Linked DNA regions of Homo sapiens: region 1 is linked to region 2. The links are contacts of gene promoters, found by promoter capture Hi-C in blood cells and fetal thymus (Javierre and others, 2016). All regions are on one chromosome and are shown on one strand. The core of a region is centred on a gene start or on the middle of the fragment in contact, and the rest is flanking DNA. Distances in the headings are between cores, read along the strand shown.

Region 1 (5,123 bases), core at 2,571-5,070, 880 kb before region 2:
GTCAAGTCCCCTCTGCCCTACCTACACCCCACCCTGCCCCAATCACCATCAGCTCTCACCTGCGTTATTGCAACAGGCTCCAAACCAGTCTCCCTGCTTCTGCTCTCAGGCCCACACAATCCATTTTCAACCCCAAAGCCACGGTTATTCTATTAAAAGTTGGATCAGTGGCTTCCTATCTCGAGTCCTTCTGATGGCCCGTGACCAGGACTCCACTGATCTCCTCTTCTATCACAGTCCCCCTCGGCGACCCTCTCCAGCCTCAACAGTCTCCTTGCCGTTCATCCACCGCACCCAGCAGGCTCCTGCTGCTGGGCCTCTGCACCACCATCCCTCAGCTGGGGAATCCCAGGGCAGTCCCACGCTTCCTTCAGATCTCTGCTTGACGCTCACCTCCTCAGCAAGCCTTCCCTAACCACCCTGAGAAAGTAGATCCCAGTCTCTACCCTGCACTCCCCATACCCTGGTTTTCTTCATAGCAGCATTTATCCCATCCCTACCTCAAATCTTTTATTTATTATTTTTAGAGTAGTGTCTCACTGTGTCACCCAGGCTGGAGTGCAGTGGTGCAATCGCAGAATCCCTGAACTGCTGGGCTCAAGCCATCCTCCTGCCTCAGCCTCCCAAAATGTCAGGATTACAGGCGTGAGCCACCATGCCTGGCCTCAAATAGCTCATATACACCAGTTAATCCACTCACTGTCTTCCTGCACTGACTTAAAAGGGAGGTCCTCGTCCTGCCTCACAGCGGGTATTCTCAAGGCTTACAGTAGCATCTGGCACTCAGTACTTGCTCAAGAAAGAGGTGATGTTCTAACAAAAACCAGACAAACTCTGATTGCCTAATTTCTGAAACTTGGGGACAGGTGAAGGATGATGTATAATACTGCTCTCTCTACTGGTCGGTATGTTTTAAAACCCCCTTGGAAAACGACGAAAGAAAGCGCTCGGCCGGGCGTGGCGGCTCAGGCCTGTAATCATAATTGCTTGAACTCAGGAAACAGAGGCTGCAATGAGATCATATCACTGCACTCCAGCCTGAGTGACAGAGTGAGACTCTGCCTGAAAGGAAAAAAAAAAAAAGTGCTCAGAATCTCTGATAAATGACCACAACGACGAGACAGCATACAGAGAACAATGACAATAACCAAGAGGAAATCAGAGCAAGGAAACCCTCCCTGTTAACAGGGCCTGTGCACAGAGGCAGGCGAGGGCCGCCATTCCATCAGAGCAGAAAGCCCATCTGAGACTGTTCCCATTTGGGTCAATTCAATGCCACACATACATATCCATGAAAGAGTGAAATCATTCCGTGAGGTGAAGTTTATTAAGAAACTCAACAGTCTCTGTCCCTGCTTCCCTTTCTCACCTCCGCCCTTCTCCATGATTCTTTTTTTTTTTTTTTCTTTGAGACAGGATCTTGCTCTGTCACCCAGGCTAGAGTGGAGTGTGATGGCTCGATCTCAGCTCACTAAAATCTCCACCTCCTGGGCTCAAGTGAAGTGATCCTCCCACCTCAGCCTCCCAAGGAGCTGAGACAGACACAGGCCACCATGTCTGGCTAATTTTTGTATTTTCAGTAGAGACAGGGTTTCGCCATGTTGCCCAGGCTGGTCTTGAACTCCTGGACTCAAGCAATCCTCCTGCCTCGGCCTCCTGAAGTGCTGGGATTACAGGTGCGAACCACCACGCCCTACCCGCTCCATAATTCTTTTTAGCTAATTCTTTTAATGTCTGCCTTCAGAGTGAACCTTGGTTGTTCAGCTTGGGGCATTAGCGACTGACTTCCCAAGGCGACAGGCGAAAATGCAGCGCTCTCCTCCCCACACCTTCTCTGCCCAGGTGCATCATAATTTCAATTAGAGCAGCAGTCAGTGTTTACATAAATTACTATCATTGCGGCGAGGCTATCCACAGCTGCGCCTTGTAGTACACCATAATTATTTTTCGTTTCCCGCACGATGGTTTATTTTCCCTGGAACTAATAACAGCCTTGTGTTTTCATTTGCTTTGTTTAGTACTTATCACTAATCCCGCCCCAACTCTGCCAACTGTATCAACTCCTCTCCAGATGCTGCAGCATGTCAGGTGTCCTGCTAATTTCATCTTCTCCCAAAGAATCTCCTCTTGGAGCCTCTGACCAGCTGGGGTCAGGACATGTCTGCTCTTCACACCAGCACCTGGCTGGGATTTCCCTTCAGCAGGTTCTTCTCACCTCTCACCTGGGGGAAATCCTGTTCCCACCAGCCAGTCTCTCTCAGTCTAGACTTACTGCCTCATCTGGGGAGACTACATCTGCCAATCACCTCCTTAAAGCATGAGGAACAAATCTGGGAGCAAGTCTGAAGTTGTCTTTACCCTACCCTCCCTTGCCTGAGTGTAGACTTCCAGGCTGCAAATGCATCCTTCAGAATTTCTCAAGCAAGGCCCTCCCGTCTCCTGCCACCCAGTGCTGCTTTGAAAAAGCCCAAGCCCTTCTGCTTCTTTTCATTTTAATTGTAGTTAGTTCTTCTGCCTTTTTCCACATGTTCTAACCTTCTGCCTCTTGACCTGTGATGACCTATTTGTGATTTGTTTTTACTTTCTCCTCTTGTTCTGAGATTTCACAACAGTATGTCCTGGAGAGGGTACGCAAGGATCTTTTTTTTTTTTTTTTTTTTTTTTTTTTGAGACGGAGTCTCACCCTTGTTGCCCGGGCTGGAGTGCAATGGCATGATCTCCACTTACCGTTACCTCCGCCTCCCAGGTTCAAGCAATTCTCCTGTCTCAGCCTCCTGGGCAGCTGGGATTACAGGCACCTGCCACCATACCTGGCTAATTTTTGTATTAGCCAGGGTTTCACTATGTTGGCCAGGCTGGTCTCAAACTCCTGGCCTCAAGTGATCCGTCCACCTCGGCCACCCAAAGTGCTGGGATTACAGGCGTGAGCCACAGCGCCTGGCCTCTGAACTCTCACTATCCAAATTCTGGGGTCAACAGCTGCAGACATGCTTTCAAATAAATCCTTCCCCTCCCAAGCTCTCACTAGTCTTTATCTGAAACTCAGCCTCTCTCACTATCCAAGTTTGCTGCCCAGACTTTTAATTTTTTAAATTTTATTTTTGAGACGGAGTCTCATTCTATTGCCCAGGCTGGAGTGCAGTGGCACGATCTGGGCTCACAGCAACCCCCGCCTCCTGGGTTCAAGCAATTCTCCTGCCTCAGCCTCCTGAGTATGGGATTACAGGCACCCACCACCATGCTTGGCTAATTTTTGTATTTTTAGTAGAGATGGGGTTTCATCATGATGGCCAGGCTGGTCTCGAACTCCTGACCTCAGTGATTCACCTACCTCCTAAATTGCTGGGATTACAGGCATGAGCCACCACACCCAGCCTTCCCAAGCTTTTAATATCCAAGCTGAGAAGTGAAGAGGCTATGAAAGTGAAGGATACCTGCATTTTCACCCGTGGTACTGGCCACTGGGTGAGCCTCTTTAACCCAGAAAGTTTGGGTTCTAGGAAATTATTTTGTGAATTTCATCCTGTTTTCCCTATTTTTTTCTTCTGGAAACTTTTTAAAATGTATTTTATTTTATTTTTTAGAGATGGGGTCTTGCTCTGTCACCCAGGCTGGATGGCAGTGGCATGATCACAGCTCACTGCAGCCTCAAACTCCTGGGCTCAAGTGATCCTCCCACCTCAGCCTCCCAAGTAGCTGGGACTACAGGTGCACACCACCACACCTGGCTAATTTTTAAATTTTGTTGTAGAGATGGGGGTCTTGCTATGTTGCCCAGGCTGGTCTTGAACTCCTGGCCTCAAACGATCCTCTCACCTCAGCTTTGAAGCTCTTACTATTCAGCTGCTGACTTCCTGATCTGATCCTTTCCGTTTCTTTTTTCTCTCATTTGCCACCTCGTTGCTTTTCTGTTCTACTTTCTGAGGGAGTTCCTCAACTTTATCTTTCACCCACTAACTGATTTTCTTATTTCTGCTTTTATTTTTTTTTTTTACATCCGAGAGTTCTCTTTTTGGATATTCGAATACTCCTTTTGGTGGCTTTTTTTTAGAGCTTCCTGTTCTTGCCTCATGTTCGCGATATTTTCGCTCACCTCCGCGTGGACATTAATGACAGCCTGCTTTCTAAGGCTCCTTCCTGCACGCTCTCTGGTTTCCCAGTGTGTATTCTGGTCTCAATCTCCTGTAGCAGAGGTTTTCTTCAGATGCCCTTGGTTATCTGCTCATATTTAAGGGATGGGGATTTTTAAAGCTTGATGCCTTGAACACTGGGAGGGGGTTATTAATGACGGGCTTCGTTAGCAAGGGATCCAGCTGGGTCTGCTGACTGGGGACCTCCTGATGTCATTAATTTTAGGTCTTTTCTCTTGGGCTACTCAGATTCCCCAAAGACACATCCATCCTCCTGTCTACAGGGAAAAGCCCCAGCTGGTCATGTTCTGGGAGCCAAAGGGTCCCTGTTCGCTTCCTCCTCCTGTGCCCTGTTCAGCACTGCGCCCCCACCCCATACTCAACCGCGCCCCCACCCCGTACTCAACTGTGCCCCCACCCCGTACTCAACTGTGCCCCCACCCCGTACTCAACTGTGCCCCCACCCCATACTCAACTGTTCCCCCACCCCGTACTCAACTGTGCCCCCACCCCATACTCAACTGTGCCCCCACCCCGTACTCAACTGTACCTGTCTCCCATTCTTCTCTGAAATATCTTTAAAGTTTCTAAACAGTTACAGAAACCACCACCTTAACAGCAGGAAGTAATAAGTTGGAGAGTCAATTATCTCCAGGCACATCTGTGGGCCAGGGCTGGAGAACCACAGTCCCGCCTGCAGCCACAGACCCACTAAGCAAGTGTGAAACTAACAGCTACTCTCCGAAAAGAAAGACAACTTAAGAATCGAAACTCAAGATGTACGGTTTTTTTAAATGACAAACAAGCCGCATGTGTTTCAGTATCATCAATAACCCGTCTTTTCCCACTGATGGCTCCTTCAGCCCCTGACCCACACTAGAAGAGAATCACCTGCCAGCCTCAATGACTGTGCGTAGTCAAGGAACTGCACGCCCAAGGTCAGCCAACCAACGGGCCTCTCTTCAGCTCTGGATCCCTTCCCACTGGGGTTCC
Region 2 (5,308 bases), core at 944-3,443:
GGAGCCCTCTCTCAGCTGGCCAGATTTCCATTTCCCGTGTGGACTGGACCCGAAACCCAGAAAGTCCACTCCAGAAACCTTTAGACTCAGAAACAGCTGGGACAAGAACAGGCACAACTTCTTCTCCGTCTGGGTGGCAAACAGCTTTGCCAGAGACTGTAAACAAACGCAGCCATCGCTGAGCCCCGTGGGTGAAAGCACACGCCTTGTAGACAGCGAAGTGGCCCGGAAGACGGTCTCCCTTAACAGCAGCCTCCCGGGTGCACACAAAGGCTGGCGCCCCGACAACCCTGACCCTCGGTAAACGCTGGCTCCCGGGTTTACCAGCACCTGGGGAGTCGACGCTGCGGGCAACCAGCCCCTCAAAGCCCTGGCTCGGTTCAAGGATAAAAGGCAGGAGAAGCCTGGTTTTTCTGCTTTAATAAATGTCTTATTTTGGAATAATGAGAGGTCTAGTTTTAAAAGCAGACTCCCTCTCCCAAGGTCAAACTCAGACATTCCTACTGGGTTACCTAAGAAAGGGAGATGTTCTCATAAATGGCACTGGACGCCCAAATAGGGTGTAGGTGTGTCCCAGACACCTGCACAGCCCACCTATGTTCTCCAGACCCCGCCCACGGCTCTTTTAATGCTCCATGTCCCTGAAGACATTGGGTTTGGAGAAGCTGCATAGGGCACCCCACTCTGTGTTGGAGAACCCCTTACAACAACACACCGTGACGGTGAAACCTCAGTGCCAGTAAAGAGACCTGGCAGCCCACCCTGGAGAATCAGAGGGGTGGGAAGGGCGCTGCCAGAGCCGAACCACACAGATATCCCCTAGACCACGATGGGGGGCGGTGGGGGGCGTTTTGAGTCTCAGGATCTTCCCAAGGCCAGGCACCTGGCCAGAGATTGGCTGGCTGCCTGTGGGTCACCTGGTGAATGAATGGTGAGTGGATCTAATTTCTGCCTCAGCTACAAGAGCTACTTAAGAAGCAAGAAAACAGCATGCTCAGGGACGCAGGACACCAGGAGAGGGACACGGGAGGCCCCGCGAACACGGACACACACGGTGTGAGCGCGAGAATGCAGTGCAGGGCCACTGCTGTGTCCCAGGCGGACCCAGGTCAAGGGCCAAGGCCAGGCGGGGTCCTGGCTTTCTGGGTTTCTCGGTGGCGCCTGGTCCCACCCCCCAGGATCTAGAGGCTGTGCAGACGCAGACACACACAGTCACGGGCACATACACAGTTTCCTGAACTTGACAGAGGCACAGAAGAACTCACGCAGTGGGAGCGGGAAGAGGCCGGAGCCCCTGCCCCACACGTGAGCAAAGGGACGAGCCTTGGGGCCACTGTCACCTGCCCCCCTCCCGCCTCCCCACGGCCTTCCTTCCAGCAACCCTGGCAGGTGGGCGGCTGAGAGCGACACCAGTCCCAGGATCCCGCCTGTGGGGAGACCCGGTTACCCCCACCCCGTTCCCGGGCACGCGTGACCCCAGCCACTGGGCCAGAGCGCCGCCCGTCACCGGGAGGAAGCGCGGGGGGCAGTCCGGGGCCGCACGCGGAAGCCACGCTGGGGCGGAAGCCGCGGAGAATCCACGCGCCCGCGCCCTCCCCGCACCGCCCGCACGTGGCGCCCGCCCCGCCCCGCCCCCCGCAGGTGTGAAGGCGCGGGCCCGATGCGCGCCGCCGACCCGCGTGGATCCTCGTCCTCCCAGGTCTGGGGTCCGCGCCCTGGGGCCCCCGGCGCGGCAAGCATGGCCCGGGCGGCACGTGCAGGGGAGAGAGCCTCGCGTCCCGGGGAAGCCCCCGGGCCTGCGGGGCGGGGCCCACCTGGGCAGGTGCCCGGGCCGCGCCGCGGGCCGCATGAGGGTCTCGGGCCCCGCGCACCCAACCCCGCCACCCTCGGCCCGCGCCCCCAGGCGGCCGTGACTCAGCGGCCAGGTAGCCCCGGCCCCGCGCCCCGGTCCCCGTCCCCGCCGCGGCCCGGGCCCCGCTGCCCCACCGCCCCTCACCTGGCGTCGCGCGGAGGGCGCGGGCGCGCGGCGGCTCCTCGCGGGCACGCGCTGTCCTCGCGCCGGCGCTCACTGTCGCGCTCCCCTCGGCCGCCGCCGCCGCCTGGCGCTCGGGCTCCGACTTCGCGAAGAACAACAAGTGCCCCCGCGCCGCCCGCCGCCACCGCACCCGCCCGCCCGGCTCCCCAGCATCTGACACCGCTTCCGGGATCCGCGGCGCGCGCGTCACACCGCCCTGCCCCCCGGGCCACGCCCCCTCCCCGCCCCGCGGCCACGCCCCCCGGCCACGCCCTCCTCTCCCGCCCGGGGGGCCGCTGGCCCCGCGCGCACCTGCAATCCCCGCGCTTTGGGAGGCCCTGCGGGAAGATCTCTGGAGGCCGGGAGTTCAAGACCAGCCTGGGCAACATAGCGAAACCTCCCTTCCCCCATTCTCTGTCTCTATAAACATAAAAAACATTAAGGCCAGCTGGGAACGGTGGCTCATGCCTGTAATCCCAGCACTTTGGGAGGCCAAAGCAGGAGGATCGCTTGAGCCCAGGAGTTCCAGACCAGCCTGGACAACACAGTGAGACCCCCATCTCTACAAAAAAATTACAAAAATTAGTCGGGCGTGGTGGTATGTGCCTGCGGCCCCAGATATTCAGGAGGCTGAGGCAGGAGGATGGCTTGAACCTGGAAGGTGGAGGCTGCCATGATTTCATCACTGCACTCTAGCCTGGGTGACAAGGTGAGACCCTGTCTCAAAAAAACAAAACAAGCAAACCAGCAATGTAAAAATGGGGATAAGCGGCTAGTGATCACAGCCTCTGTGGGTGGGGCCAGCCCCCTTCTAAAGCCCCAGCTGGTGGTTGCCAGGGGACACAGCAGGCCCAGGATGGGGTTAGGGCACCACTGGCCCAAGGAGTCCTGTGAGGGATCCTCAGGTGGGGGCGGGCCCCTGAGGGAGCTGCCTCTGCTTCCTGTCACAGGTGGAGGACAGGCTGGAGAGGGGATCCGTCTGGAGCCCCTTGCCACGCTTCTGGGTCCCCAAGTCCCGCCCCCCTCTGAGCGCTGCAGGAAGAGGAGTTTCAGGCCTGGGCAACCGAGGGCCCCCCAGGACACCCATGGCATCTGCCCGGGGTTCTGGGAAGCCTGTTTTCTCAGCTCAGGTGGGACCCGGGAGCCTGTTTTCTCGGCTCAGGTGGGACTCAGGAGCCAGTGCAGGGAGGTCTGTGCATCTTCTGGGTGTCGTCCTTACCACCATGTGGCTGGGGATTTAGGCAGCAGCCCAGTGGCCTCTTGCTGTGGAGCGCGGGGGCAGCCTCCCGGGCCATCTCTCCCCCCCACTTGCGGGTTCTGCACTGGCCACCTGGGAGGCCCCTCCTTGCTAAGGCCCACACGGCCGTCTGGGGCAGCTAGCCACAGTGATGCCTGCAACCTGGCCGCAGAAACAGGTGCCAAGAAATAACTCAACAGCAGCAGTAGCGACAATGTCCCACGTCCCCAGGATGTTTGCAGAAAGACATCCCCCGGGGATGGGAAAGGTGCTTCCCTTGTCCTGGCCCACACTCTGCACTCGGGGTCCTGGGATGCGCTGGGAGCCTCCAGAGAAGCTGTGGCCATCTCCGCGGGACTCTTTACGTTACTCATGGTGTCGCTCCTCTAACCCAAATGCATTCTTTCCATAGCAGGCTTTTGTTACTAATCACACACTTTTATTATCTCTTTAATTTTTTAATTTGTATTTATTTATTTCTGAGATGGAGTCTCACTCTGTCGTCCAGGCTGGAGTGCAGTGGCACCATCTCGGCTCACTGCAGCCTCCGCCTCCCAGGTTCAAGTGATTCTCCTGCCTCAGCCCCCTCGAGTAGCTGGGATCACAGGTGCCCACCACCACGTCTGGTTAAATTTTGTTTTTGTTCTTGTTGCTGTTTTGAGATGGAGTCTCACTCTGTTGCCAGGCTGGAGTGCAGTAGCACGATCTCGGATCACTGCAAGCTCCGCCTCCCAGATTTAAACAATTCTTCTGCCTCAGCCTCCTGAGTAGCTGGGACTACAGATGCCTGCCACCACGCCCGGCTAATTTTTTTTTTTTTTGTATTTTTAGTAGAGACGGGTTTCACCATGTTAGCCAGGATGGTCTCAATCTCTTGACCTTGTGATCTGCCTGCCTCGGCCTCCCAAAGTGCTGGGATTACAGGCGTGCGCCACCACACCGGCTGATTTTTGTATTTTTCGTAGAGACGGTTTCACCATGTTGGCCAGGCTGGTCTCGAACCCCTGACCTCAGGTGATCCACCCGCCCTGGCCTCCCAAAGTGCTGGGATTACAGGCGTGAGCCACTGCATCCAGCCTAATTTTTAAAATTTTGAATTATTTATTTATGTTTGTTTTATGAGACAACATCTCACTGTCGCCCAAACTGGAGTTCACTGGTGCAATCACAGTTCCCTGTAGCCTCCACCTCCCAGGTTCAAGTGATCCTCCCACCTCAGCCTCCTAAGTAGCTGGGACCAAGGGCTGGTGCTACCACGCTTGGCTAATTTTCTTTGTTTTTTTTTGTAGAGACAGGATCTTGCTCTGTTGCCTAGGCTGGTCTTGAACTCCTGGGCTCAAGTGATCCTCCCGCCTCGTCCTCTCAACGTGTTGGGATTACACGCATGAGCCACTGTGCCTAGCCAAAGTTTACTTTTTATTGTGGTAAAGTAAACATCACATAGAATTTACCATTTTAACCATTTTTTTTAAGTTAAAAAAATATTTTTTCAGAGATAGGGTCTTGCTACGTTGGTCAGGTTGGTCTTGAACTCCTGGCCTCAAGCAATCCTCCTACCTCAGCCTCCCAAAGTGCTAAGATCACAGGTGTGATTAGGTGAATAGGCTGGGCATGGTGGCCATCACACTAGGCCAAGTTAACCATTCTAAGTGTACGGTTCGGTGGCGTTAAGTACATTCACGTTGTGGTACAAACATTGCCATCATCCATCTCCAGAAATTTTTCATCATTTAGTAGTTCCTTTTGTAAAAAAATGTTAAGTTCTGGCTGGGCAAGCTGGCTCACGCCTGTAATCCCAGCACTTTGGGAAGCTAAGGTGGGTGGATCACCTGAGGTCAGGAGTTCAAGACCAGCCTGACCAACATGGAGAAACCCTGTCTCTACTAAAAATACAAAATTAGCTGAGTGTGGTGGCGCATGCCTATAATCCCAGCACTTTGGGAGGCTGAGACGGGCAGATCACCTGAGGTCGGGAGTTCAAGAGCATCCTGACCAACATGGAGAAACCCCATGTCTACTAAAAATACAAAATTAGCCAGATGTGGTGACTCACGCCT

Evidence for each region. Contacts are between HindIII fragments. The CHiCAGO score rates a contact against its expected background, and 5 or more counts as called.
Region 1: a fragment that was not itself captured here is called in contact with the fragment with the promoter of MAFK in region 2 in 3 of 17 cell types (naive CD4 T cells, total CD8 T cells and naive CD8 T cells); the score reaches 6.2 in naive CD4 T cells.

What each region holds. Positions count from the first base shown.
Region 1 is chr7:2,405,908-2,411,030 of GRCh38, reverse strand. The region is part of intron 1 of CHST12 (carbohydrate sulfotransferase 12); the gene reads right to left. Among named protein-coding and RNA genes, the nearest start is that of CHST12, 4.9 kb to the right of the region's middle. RefSeq lists enhancers at 2,107-2,226, 2,237-2,296, 3,934-4,053, 4,904-5,023. The HindIII fragment of the contact is 867 bases long and covers 3,387-4,253 here.
Region 2 is chr7:1,527,587-1,532,894 of GRCh38, reverse strand. MAFK (MAF bZIP transcription factor K) reads right to left here and starts at 2,193. Exons shown (of 3, transcript NM_002360.4): 1 at 1,997-2,193. LOC100128653 (a long non-coding RNA gene) reads left to right here. Exons shown (of 1, transcript NR_149036.1): 1 at 1-442. RefSeq lists enhancers at 1-82, 8-157 and silencers at 1,474-1,603, 2,094-2,363. The HindIII fragment of the contact is 17,285 bases long and covers 1-5,308 here.